3 separate regions of the Homo sapiens genome follow, and regions 2 and 3 are each linked to region 1. The links are contacts of gene promoters, found by promoter capture Hi-C in blood cells and fetal thymus (Javierre and others, 2016). All regions are on one chromosome and are shown on one strand. Each heading gives the region's core, a stretch centred on a gene start or on the middle of the fragment in contact. The rest is flanking DNA. Distances are from core to core; before and after follow the strand shown.

Region 1 (3,954 bases), core at 1,155-3,654:
AATCACTTCACTATGGATGCTGTCAATTTCTATAATCAGACCTCACGCCAGTAACTGAATATTATGGAAATATTAAAAAAACATGGAGCCATGCCTATGGCTTCTTGAAAGTCATTTGAGTTGAAGAAATATGAATACAGAAATACCAGCAAGATTGTCTTCTTCTGCCAGCTTATACATGTGAATTGTCCTAGATGTTAATTTATAACCAGGGCTTCAGCTTTTTCATAAACCTACTGGGGGACTTAAGAGTAGCTGAGCTCAGAAATCCCCTTTTATTAAAAAATGTATATAACCTAAGGTGAAGAGAGTCTAGAAAATCTTTATATAAAAAATTTTTGAAAATTCACATCCATAAGTCTCTGGAAAAATCAAAGCTTTTAACCTTAGGTTAATCTATTGCATTTTAGAAAGACATTATAAACCTAATATCTGCTATCCATTCATTAGTATTTTATAACTGATCTAACTTTAATTCTAATATGTAAGTTCATTGTGTTAGAAGAAAAAAGACTAGAAACCAAAACTCAAATCCAAGTGGTCACCAGTGTTATTTCTCATAAAACAAGATAATTCTTGGGGGAGTGAGGGAATCTGGATGATTTTAGCCTATAAAGTAAGAAGAAAATACATTATTTAAATTACTTACTTTTTCTTTGTAACTAAGGTACTCCAGAAGTAAAAATATAAGTTTCTGATATACTGAGGGAGATGACTGCATTAATCCTACATTCACAGGAAAGTTTTGGATATGTAAGAAGGGGTACAAGAGGACAAAGAAAATCTTCAACTGTTAAAGAAAGATAAAGCTTTGAAGTCCTATTTGTGGAATAGTAACTTCTTTTTGCCAATCACTCACACTGAATTAACTCATTACACCTGGAAAGTCATAGCCAGTCACTGAAGGGCAATATAACACCTTGGACAAATAAGCCTTCCAAACGCAAACTCAAAATATGAGGGCAAACAAGTATTCAAGTCAAATCTACTGCTGGACACTTTGCATGGAAAGTTTGATACCCTTTCAGCTCCTATTATCCTCAGATATTCTATGGGGTACAATTTTCCTACACTATAATTGTAAGGAAATGAGGATAAAAGGCAATGCCTGGGTGGGCAGTACTGAGAAGGGTAAACTCCGTTCCCCACAGTGCTAGAAATAAACAGGAACAATACTATGATCCCAGGAGCACATCATGCATTGCCCTGACTTTCTCAGTACCCTTCTTTCCCAAATATAATGCCTACCTTCCGTGTGGACTGCAGAGACATAGGTCCAATTGTAACGTTTGACTATGTCAAGCATGGCCCTTGCCTGCAAAGTGTCAGAAGGGACAACCCTCAGGAAGTATTTGTACAAAGTTTTGTCACTCAGGTCGATGCTTGTGGCTGAATAAGCGATCTGGGGGATGTCGAAGAGCTGGAGCAGGTTCTGCACTTGAATGGCTACAGAGCTGGAGCCGGGACCGATCACTCCCGCAATGGGCTTCTTAGTCCTGCCTGGGGGGAGGGACTGGCCGTCAGGCAGACACCGGTTGATCCCATCCTTCTCATCTCGAATGGAAATCAGAGAGTCCCTAATGAACTCAATGCTCTGTTCCAGAGCCACGGAAGAGTGCCAGCAGGAGTCCCGGATCTCACTGCCCAGGGTGATGTTGGGCAGGAGGACCGGGTCCGCGTTGATCTTATCCAACGTGTGGAACATGGCCTCCACCCTCTGGATGCCATACTGCTCCCTGATCTCCCCACACTTCCTCTCGGGCACTTTCTCGGCCGGAGGCTGGTGATGGACTGAGAAGAGGGCTCCAATGATGACATCTCCGTCCATTCTGGCCACCGAGCGCTGAGACGACGCTCCTGCCAGCAACACTTTCCTGCCGGGGCTTCTGGGGAGAAGGGACACCTCCAAAAAGATCGCTGGGAAAAAAAACAAAAGGAGCCCGACCATGGTGGTGAGGACGAGGTCCACAGCCTGCCAGCCGCGTTCCCACGCTGGTCCCGCTGCAGGCTCCCGGCGCGCACCCCCAAGACGCCCAGCGCCGCCTCTCCCGGAGTGGTGCCCCTCGCCAACAATGGTCGTCCAAGGCCTTTGCCTCCTCCACCACCGCCTCCTTCCCCTTCGTCTCCTCCTCTGGGTCCTCCACGACCGCCTCTACAAGCTGGAGGCGTTTGTAAGGGAATTCGAGTCCCCGTTCTTCACCGGTAGTGCATCAAGGTAAATTGATCAAGAGTACAGTGGAAGTCGTGTTGGCAGCGGTGAGCTAGATGCTGCTGACAAAAGACAGAGAAAAATCACAACCTTGTCATCAGAGGACCTGTGTTAAAACTCTGGGGTCTATAATGTTAACAGTTGCCTTGTCCGTTTCATTTCGGCACATCCTGATATCGGCTGCAGGAACAGCTTGGAGCGCAGCTGTGGTCACTGAGGAAGGCGGGGTGTCCTGCCCCCTCTGTCCTCACGGGTCCAGGCGGCGCAGAGCCCCGCCAACTCGCCCGCTCCTCCAACCTTAAGTCGTTTCCTGGTCCCCTAAAACCTATCATGCTTTCTAACTTGGAGGGCGGTGGGGAAGGTGAGCAGAGAGGAGGGGAGGAGCTAGGTCCTTCAACCCAAGAGAACTTTCCGGATTGGAAAAGATCAACTTTTTTTCAGAAGAAAATTTGGAAACTCATTGTAAAGGTGGAAGCGCGACTTTAAAATAAACGTAAACAAAGGATGCACCTTTTACTTTAATTTTGAGGGGTTGAAGAAGCCCTGACATAAAATCAGCTGTAAATATAAATTTGCCAGCTTGAAGAAAATCCACATTAGTTACTAAGGCAACGCCTGGTAAAGTCTCCGTATGGAGGAGTTTGGTATGTTTCCCCCGTAAGAAGTCAGGCTTGCTGTGTATGTTCAAGAAGAAGGGGTGCAGATAAGGTAACTTGTTTCCCGCGGTGGGTGGACGGGTTAGGGGGGGTCCTGCGCTTGCTTTGGGGTTTGCATAGTTGCTAGAAAGGGAACGGAGGGGAGCTTCCGGGTTGCTCTCGCCGCGGCAGCCTGAGCCCTGCCGCCTTCAGGACCCTGGACAGTGCTCGGTCCAGCCAGACATTCCCTGGCAGGGCCTGCAAGGGACGCTTTGACCAGTGAGTTGCAATTCCCTGACCCGCTTTGCTCTTTCAACCTCCCTCCTCTGAGTTCTTTACCCATACACACACACACACACACACACACACACACACACACACACACACACTCCCTTCCACTCGAGTCCCCACCGCCCCTCCGCCCTCATTCTCATCACCTTGCACCGCTTGTGCAGGTATATATCCAAACCCACCCGCTTGGGGACAGAGGCGCCAAATCTCAGCCGCCTGCGGGGCTGAAGTTGGCTCCCTCTCCCGTTCCTCCCCTGCTCCTTTTCTCAAGGTGAGAGTCGACGAAAAGGGGGCTATGGGAGCGGGCGAGGAGAGCACAGGAGGTGAGGCAGAAAAAGGAGAAAGAAAACCCAGGCACCCATTGGTCCCGACTCTTCCTGAGGATACAGGACGAAAAGAAATACATAAGCGAGAATGCGCCTGGGACCCGGAGGAAAATCTGATAGACTGGGACTTTGTCTGCCGTTGTGGGTGGGTTTCACCGGAGGAAGTGTCCGCTCACCTGAGTCTGTTTGGAGGACATGGACTTGAGACATACCTGAGTACCTGAGTCGGGGTAGACAGCGCTATGGTCCCGGGGCCAGAGGACCGTGGCCACGCTCGGCTTGCAGACGCCTCAGCTCTAATCCAGACGGTGCAAGGATGCGATCTGGGCTGTACACTAGTGCCCTCTTTCTTCAGCACTATTTTACCGCAAGGGAAAAAGAGGGGGAGGGAAGAAAAAAAAAAACAGGTCACCCAAGGCTTGTCTATTATCTCATGTATAAAAATCAGTCGTTTGATAGAGGGAGGAGGGGAGACAAACTAGGAGGAAGTGGG
Region 2 (4,362 bases), core at 508-3,007, 600 kb before region 1:
TAAAAGTTAAAACAGAATGGTACACCTGTATAGCACACTTACCATGAGTGGAGCTTGCAGGAAGTTGCTTTTAATGAGTCAGTGATTTGAGAGTGACTGTGAAGGCCTGGGAGATTACTGTACACTACTGAAGACCTTATAAATATTGTACACTTAGGCTACATTAAATTTGTAAAAAACAATTTCTTTCTTCAATAATAAATTAGCCTTAGTTTACTAGATGACCACTCTCATATATGAGGCTCATCAGTGGCCAAAGTGTTGTTATGAGGTGTGTGATTGTATTCAAACATGAAACTCCTAAAGGGAAATATAACACAGTACAGGGGAACTGATGAGTTAAGGTACTCAATTTTTAAAACAATGGTTAAGGAAAATATCTATAGTAAGGCAATATTTAAATAATAAAAGAAAGTGAGGGATCAAGCTATGTGACTATCCATCAAAGAATGCTCCAGATACAGGAAGGAAGAGTATTCCAGATGCAGAGGACATCCTGACTTAGTTTAAGAATAATACAGAGGTCAGTGTGCCTTAAGCTGTGTGAGTGGGAGGAAAAGCAATGGAAGTTGATTGCAGAGAGGTACTAGATGCAAAGATTGTCAAGGTGATCTAAGGCAGGGGGAGGGTCTTTACTCTGAGTGAGATAAGAAGCCAAAGGAGGGTTCTGAGCAGGGGTCCAAAATGATATTATTAGAATTTGATGATAATTCTTGCTGCTATGTTGAAAAAGACCAAAGGAAGAAGGGAGACAATGTAAAATGCTTTGAATTAAGAGGAGAGAACTAATGGGGGTTTGGACTGGCTTGGTGACTGAAGAGAAGGCAAGAAATAGATTCTGCATATACTTTAAGATAGAGAAAGCAGATAGAGTTGATATTTCCTTATCGACAGAAGACCGTGGTACGGAGAAAAATTGAGGCAGGGGGCATAAAGCAGCAGTGCGCTGATAAATAAGATTGTGCTTTAGATGCCAAAAATACAGCCTTGAGGATACTGAGTAGGTAATTAGACATCAGATTCTGAAGTTTGGGAGAAAAAATTGGACAACAAGTGAAACTTTGAGAGTCATCAGCATCTAGGTGGTATTTAAAGTCTTAAGACTGGATGAAATCATCAAGAAAATAACTACTTAAGGAAGGGGCACACCCAGGGATGCTAACAGCTGGTATAGATTGAGCAAGAACAATTCTAAATGGACCCTGACCACAATGCTGGGTCAGTGTCTTCAAAGCCTCCAACTAAGCCAGACATTTATTCCGTATTTTATGTAGCAGGAACAAATATTTAAAGTCCTCAGGGAAAGTCAGGGACCTAGGGCAAAAGGCAGAAATGTCTGGAACTCAAGAGTTATTGGTAATTGTTAAGACTACCTACTGAGAAATATAAAAATATTTCAATCTCTAGTAATCAACAGAGCTGTATTTCTGCCCTGGTACTCTATATGTAAGGGTCAGAGAGATAAGGAGGAAATAACTGTGAACACTGAGAAAAGAAAGCAGTCACTGAATGTGGTAGACAGAATAACCACCAACCCCTACTTCAAATACATACACATCTTAGTCCCTGGAAACTGTGGATCTGTTACCCTCCATTGAAAAAGGGAGCTTGTAGATGTGATTAAGTATCTTGAGATGGGGAGATTATCCTGGATTATCTGGGGATCTCAGAGTAACTCCAAGAGTGCTCAAAAGTGGAAGAAGGAGTCGGAGGAGGTTAGAGGGAAAAGTGGCTGCTGAAGAAAGCAAAAAGGGAAAATTGCTGGGTTTGGAAGATAGACAAAAGTGGCCACAAGCCGAGGAATGTGGTCAAGTTCCAGAAGCTGGAAAGGCAAGGAAGTGGATTTTCTCCTAGAGCCTACAGAAAGGAAGGCAGCCCTGCTGAAACCTTGTTGGTAGCTCAGTGAGACCCATTTTGGACTTGTGACCTCGAGAATTCCAAATGAATTTGTCAATGAATGTATGTGATTTGAAGCCATTAAGTTTGTGATATTTTATTCTAGCAGCCATAAGAAACTAATACACTGAGGTAGGAAAAACACACTGGAAGGCGATACCTTGGAAACCAAGTGAAGGTTTTTTTTGTTTTTTTTTTTTTTTAATGAGGAGATGAGCAGGAGACCTAAATGCAGCTAGCAGATCAAGAATGATAAAGTGAAAACAACTAAATGTTGAATTTAGAAACAAGGAAACATCTCTCAAATATCACCTCCTGGAGGTGAGGGCTGGAGGACTTTCATGAACACCCTATTATAGCAAGGTGCTTCTCTGCATCATTTCATATTGCTTCATTTTTATACTACTCAGTACTCTCACTAATCCTTTATTTATGTGCTGACTGTGTGCCTCCACAGGTAGGATTTTGTAAACTCCACTGTGGTAGGAACATTGGATTTTTTGTTCATTTCCTCCATCTCCAGTAACTGGGATGGTACCTGGACAAAGTAATAAATCTATCTCTATCATCTATTTATATGAAATGAAACAATGAATGCCTGTAATTTACATTTCTGATATACCTAATTGAAACTCTGTCAAATTTTTATATGTAGGTAGAGATTGAGCAGAAGCCTACCGATCCTGTTTCCATTTCTTTTGCAGTTTGGCTAGCACTATGTTATGTTGTATTCCAGCTTCGGGTTCATAAACATTCTGTGAGATACTTCTCTCTCTCTTCCTGCTCAATGTCTGTCTGAGTCCTATAAGGACACCTTACAAAATGGTTATACCACAAAATGAAAGGAGTCAGGAACTCTTATTCAGCACATGCAAAGCCAGCACTACACACCTGGTCACACTCTGGTATGAAAGAAATATTCTTTGTAGTGTTAAGTCACTGAGATTTGGTTTTTCGATACTGTAGCATTGTCTCAAATAAAGAGTGCAATTATACTGTTAGGATTTGGATTTCCTCTTTCGTATCTTTAATCATTATAAGCACTTGTATGCTATATTACAGATTATTCTTCTATTATCTTAAATTTTCAACTTTCGATTCTCTTGCTTGTTGTGACTTTTGCCAATATTTTGTATATTCTTTAATTATGAGCTTATCCTTATCAGGGTTTTCTTCTCCTCCTATCCTTTTCCTCCAGGGTAATCCTGTGTTGAGAAGATGTTCTTTCAATATAACATTGAGTTTTCTTCTGTCAGAAACCCCAAATGAATAAGCCATCCAGGAACCCATAGATAATGTAAAAGCAAGTCACAAACCTACTCAAGTCTCAGTGAAAAGTTAGCTTTCTTATAATCTTTCTGTGCTTAGGTGGATTTTCTCATTCATCTCTTTAAAGACAATTAAACTCTTGGAAAGCCGTATTTTCACCTAAGATTGGAATACTTCCTTTCCTCATTTGGGCACAAGACCATGTACTGTATATATTGAAACAAAAGATTCCAATTTTTTAAGACTGATAGGACTTCCCTCAGAGCCATAGCACTCTGATCATCAATTTTTCTCTTCACTTCTGGATCCTGAAGATCCTTATTCTTTTTTTGTTTGTTTGTTTGTTTGTTTTTTAAGAAGCAGGGTCTCACTATGTTGCCCAGGCTGGCCTCTAAGTCCTGAGCACAAATGATGCTCCTACCTCAACCTCCCAAGTAGCAGGGAGTGCCAACATGTCTGGCTTTTATTCTTTATATACATATTTATAAGTATTTGTATTCTCTTCTTTTTTTATGGCCTTACTATTTTGTCAGGCTGGCCTCTAACTCCTGGGCACAAATGATCCTTCCACCTTGGCCTTCCAAGTATTTAGGACTACAAGCATGTGTGATCCTGCCCAGCTTGCTTTCTTTCTTTTATTTTTATTTTTATTTTTATTTTTTGACGGAGTTTCACTCTTGTCACCCAGGCTGGAGTGCAATGGTGCGATCTCAGCTCACTGCAACCTCCGCCTCCCGGGTTCAAGCGATTCTCCTCCTTCAGCCTCCTGAGCATCTGGGACTACAGGCACCTGCCACCATGCCCAGCTAATTTTTGTATTTTTAGTACAGGTGGAGTTTCATCATGTTGGCCAGGCTGGCCTCAAATTCCTGACCTCAGATAATCCACCTGCCTCAGCCTCCCAAAGTGCTGGGATTATAGGCACGAGCCACAGTGCCTAGCCAGCTTTTTTCTTTATACACACATTTATAGGTATTGTTATTCTTTTAAAATATTAATCTACTATCATCCTAGAAAAGAAAGTCTGAAAATTTATACATTGTTAAAGAGGATTCCTAAGTAGCATGTAAGAATGTATTATAAAGGAGTAAGGATGACTAGAATAGTTTTCAGGGAAAAATGAAGCTTTTTTCATAGTATTAATTGAAAAATCAAGGCATAAATTAGCATATTACAATATCTCTGTTGTATAGAGTA
Region 3 (3,951 bases), core at 892-3,391, 630 kb before region 1:
TTAAGACAAAAGAAAAAAGCTTGAAAGCCAGCAGCAAGAAAAGACCTGTTAGAGGGGAAGGACAGATTGCTCACCAGGAGCCAGGGAGGCCAGAAGAATAATTCTGGCTGGCCTGGAGGAAAATTCTGGAAGGCTGGAAAATTAATGGCACACTAAATACCAAATGCTGAAAGAAAATTACTGCTAACCCAGAATCATATCACTAGGGAAAATATTCTTTAGGAATAAGAGTAAAATAAACACATTCTCAGATAAAGGAAAGATAAGATAATTTGTCATCATTAGAGTGTCTCAAAAGGAATTGCGAAAGAAAATTTTTCAGAAATAAAAAGAAAGGAGAATAAAAGGAAAAATGGAACATCAAGAATGAGAAAGCATAAAGGAAAAATTTTACATGCCAGTTAAAATATTTACTTAAAAAATAAAAAATGAACATATGACTAAATGTGGTACTCTTGTCTTCAAATTTTTTATATTGTGTTTGAATTTAAAAGCAAAATTTATGATGAAGTTTTCAATATATACACAGGAAATGTTTAAAAAAACTATATCAGTGGTTGGGTGTGGTGGCTCACACCTGTAATCCCAACACTTTGGGAGGCCGAGACAGGAGGATCACTTGAGGTCAGGAATTCAAGACCAGCCTGCACAACATAGTGAGACCCTGTCTCTACAAAAAATAAAATTAGTCAGGCGTGATGATGGCATACCTGTAGTGCTAGCTACTTGGGAGGCTGAGGCAGGAGGATCACTGGATCCCAGGAGTGGAGGCTGCAGTGAGCTATAATTGTGCCACTACACTCCAGCCTGAGCGACAGAGTCAGACCCTATCTCCAAAAAAAAAAAAAAAAAGAAAAAAAGAAAAAAAAGTAAAGGAAAAAGGAAAAGAAAGCTATATTAGAAAAGGAGGAATATAAAGAAGACTAAATGGTGGTAAAGTATTTATATTCCAATTCAAGTGGTAAAATCATGATACTAGTTGACTGTGATAAGCTATGCATGTATATTTTAATTCATAAAGTGAAGAGATTTGCTTGAAAGCACTATAGGTCAATCAAAATGGAATCCTAAGGAATGCCCAAGAAACATACAGGAGTAAAGGAAAGGGGATTAAGAATGCAATAAATACAAAGTAACACACACAAAATAAGAAAGGTAACAAAGAACAAACAAAGAATAAAATCACAGACTTCAATTCCAATTACATCAAATATAAATGTTCTATACAGACAAATTAAAATACAAGAGTAACTTGAATATACTTATCAAAAATTAAGAATTTGCAAATATTTTGATGGAATAACTCCATATGGTAGAAATCCTAGAAAAAGAAGTCCGTACAAATGGGCAAAGACTATATACATAAAGATGAAATTTTACAGCATTGTTTGTTTTGGTAAAACACTGGTCCTAACCTAAATGTTTACCAATATCAAATTAGCAATATATATTATATTTACATATCTCACACAATGGAATACAAAGTAGATCAATATATATTAGCATAGAAAATGACTGTGTGTAGGGAAAAGAATAGTGTACAGAATAATACATTTCTATGACCCTATTGTTATAAATTATGTACAATAGCTTTATGTATGTTTATAAGAATAGAAGAAAGCTTAGGAGGATATAAATAAATCATTTGCTGTGATTAAATATGGTAAAATTACGGGGAACTTTCACTGCATACTTTGAACATTTTAACAGTAGTTGAATTTCCTGTTTTAAAAGCATGTATAATATTACATATAATGAAATAAAGCATTTCCATTTTGGAACAAAGTAATTGAATGATAGAAAAATAATTTTGTCATAGTTTATATCTTGCAAACATTGTTCCTCAAATTTAATGAACAAAAATGTCACTGGATGAGAGAGTTTTCTTATAATGCAGGATTGCAGGCTCTACCCTGGAAATTCAAACTCATGAGGTCTGGAGTGGGGCATGGGAAGTGGATGTTTAAGAAGTACAACAGCCAGTTTGATGTTGGGGGGTTTCTGTACCACAAAATTAGGAAACTCTGAATTCTAGAATAACATTGTGGTTAAGCAGTATAAGGCTCAATCAGAAATAAAGCAAATGCATTTTTATATAAACATATTGATGGCAACTGGGAAAAATTATTGGTCCTAATGTGTGTGTTTTCTCTGTTTATCAGAAACAAATGAAAGCACAGAGACACTCAGAGAAAAGCTGCCATCAGCAATACATATTTCAAGCGGAGAGCAATGGCTAACCTGCTTCTTTCGGGGGCCCAAAGGAATGCTGCCATTGGAAGGCACTTGACGAGATGATATGTGTCCCAGCATTAGTATCATCATTCCCAGGTGAAAGACGGGAGAGAGCTGCTCTGTGTCACAACCCTGTTCTTAATGCTACTCAATAAATTTCTATCTGGCTGAGGTCAAAGAACTTGATACAATTTACTTAGAATCCAAACTGGAAATAATAAAAATACTTTCATAGAAAAAATGATAACCTGGTGTGAAAATCAGAATTTTTAAATGTCATGCCAAGAGGCTCTGAGAGGTTGGTTTGCCTCAAAGAAGTGATAAAGGTAAATGTTTTACAGGACAAAGTGAATGAGGGAGAAGAATATTTGTGATAAGGCAGAGAAGAAAAATCAATTTCCAATAAGAAAAAGGTAAGAAAGCTTTAAGAAACTAAAGAAGAAAAACAGTGAGAAGAAGACTCATCATGTCTCATAAGATGGGAAACGGGAAAGAAAATAAATGTAGGGTATAAGATGAATCTGTAGTGTATTGTACTGAATCAAGAAGTAGAAGTAATAATGCATATTTTATAAACATGTTTCCCAAATACTTGCAGAGAGAAGCAAATGACAGACATGTACAAGTGCTCAACTAGAATTGGAAGAGAAAAAAATCAAAATCAAATTGAGTGTGTCTGGAAAGGAAAGAAACGGATAAAAAACCAACCACATAGGATTTGCATGTAAGACAGAATTGACTCTAACTTCTTACTAATGTTAATATGTACACAGATATTGACTCAGCCCTATCACCTGGGGATCAGGTAGAAAGAAATAAAAATTTCTGCCCTAAGCCTAGAGAGAACAGATTCTACTAATCAGAAAACCAGGCAGCTGCCTCTCTATCACATGCCTACCAAAATAATTCATAGGGAACTGGTATGTCAGTGCTCACAGCATCCTCTGTAGGCATTCCTCTGATGAGACCACTGAGGAAACAGAGGGAGCCAGTGGAGCTGAGGTCCAGTCTCTACCACATCGTTCCCTAAAGGGCTAAATTATCTAGAGGTGGGCTAAATGACTGGACCAGACTGAGATTTCCAAAGTGGGCTCAATACATTTTTAAACAAATTTCTGAATCAAGTGGAGTTGAGCTTGTGAATAATCAGTATGATTAAGGAGAAATAAGTCACATTTTCTTTGCAAAATGGAAAGTGATGTTAATGAATGTTAACTCCTATGCAGGAGGAAATTTGAAAACCAAGGAGGGATGTCAGGAAGCAGAAAGAGAGAATGAGAAATAAATCAACAGGGTTGGTTCAATGTTTCAAAACACTTCATAGTTTTGACCTTCCTCCCACCTCAAGTTTAGACAAATGTGGGACAGGAACCAGGGCATTTTATCTCCTCGCTTTTCCTCTGCGTACCTTCTTTCTATACTCCCTCAACACTATCCACTAGGTTTTTCACCTTTTTAATATCACCCTTCTGCTTGCTCCTCTGCACAGATTTAAAACTTAAAGTCTAGTCTAGATAATAGTCCTCTTGATTGGTAAATAAATAAGATAAAGTAACTTAGAAAGTTATTTTCTCTTCTAACAAAATTTCAAGGCCAATTGTCTTGCTGTGGATGTTTAAAAAACAAAAATCCAATTTTGGATATTAGAAGCTATATTACCTTTTTCCCTTTGCCCTTCCCATTGTAATTATCCTAACAATTTCTCATTATTGGCCC

The links. The method cuts DNA at HindIII sites, captures the fragments that hold promoters and counts their contacts. A CHiCAGO score of 5 or more calls a contact.
Region 2: a contact is called between a fragment that was not itself captured here and the fragment with the promoter of GRM1 in region 1, in 1 of 17 cell types (endothelial precursors). The highest score is 6.5, in endothelial precursors.
Region 3: a contact is called between a fragment that was not itself captured here and the fragment with the promoter of GRM1 in region 1, in 3 of 17 cell types (endothelial precursors, M1 macrophages and M2 macrophages). The highest score is 7.8, in endothelial precursors.

What each region holds. Positions count from the first base shown.
Region 1 is chr6:146,027,512-146,031,465 of GRCh38, reverse strand. GRM1 (glutamate metabotropic receptor 1) reads right to left here and starts at 2,404. Exons shown (of 8, transcript NM_001278064.2): 1 at 1,249-2,404. The coding sequence starts at 1,948. RefSeq lists enhancers at 1,585-2,085, 2,086-2,586. The HindIII fragment of the contact is 3,742 bases long and covers 812-3,954 here.
Region 2 is chr6:146,629,701-146,634,062 of GRCh38, reverse strand. The region is part of intron 1 of ADGB (androglobin); the gene reads right to left. Among named protein-coding and RNA genes, the nearest start is that of ADGB, 33 kb to the right of the region's middle. The HindIII fragment of the contact is 5,071 bases long and covers 1-4,292 here.
Region 3 is chr6:146,658,122-146,662,072 of GRCh38, reverse strand. All of the region lies in intron 5 of ADGB (androglobin), which reads right to left. Among named protein-coding and RNA genes, the nearest start is that of ADGB, 61 kb to the right of the region's middle. The HindIII fragment of the contact is 1,036 bases long and covers 1,624-2,659 here.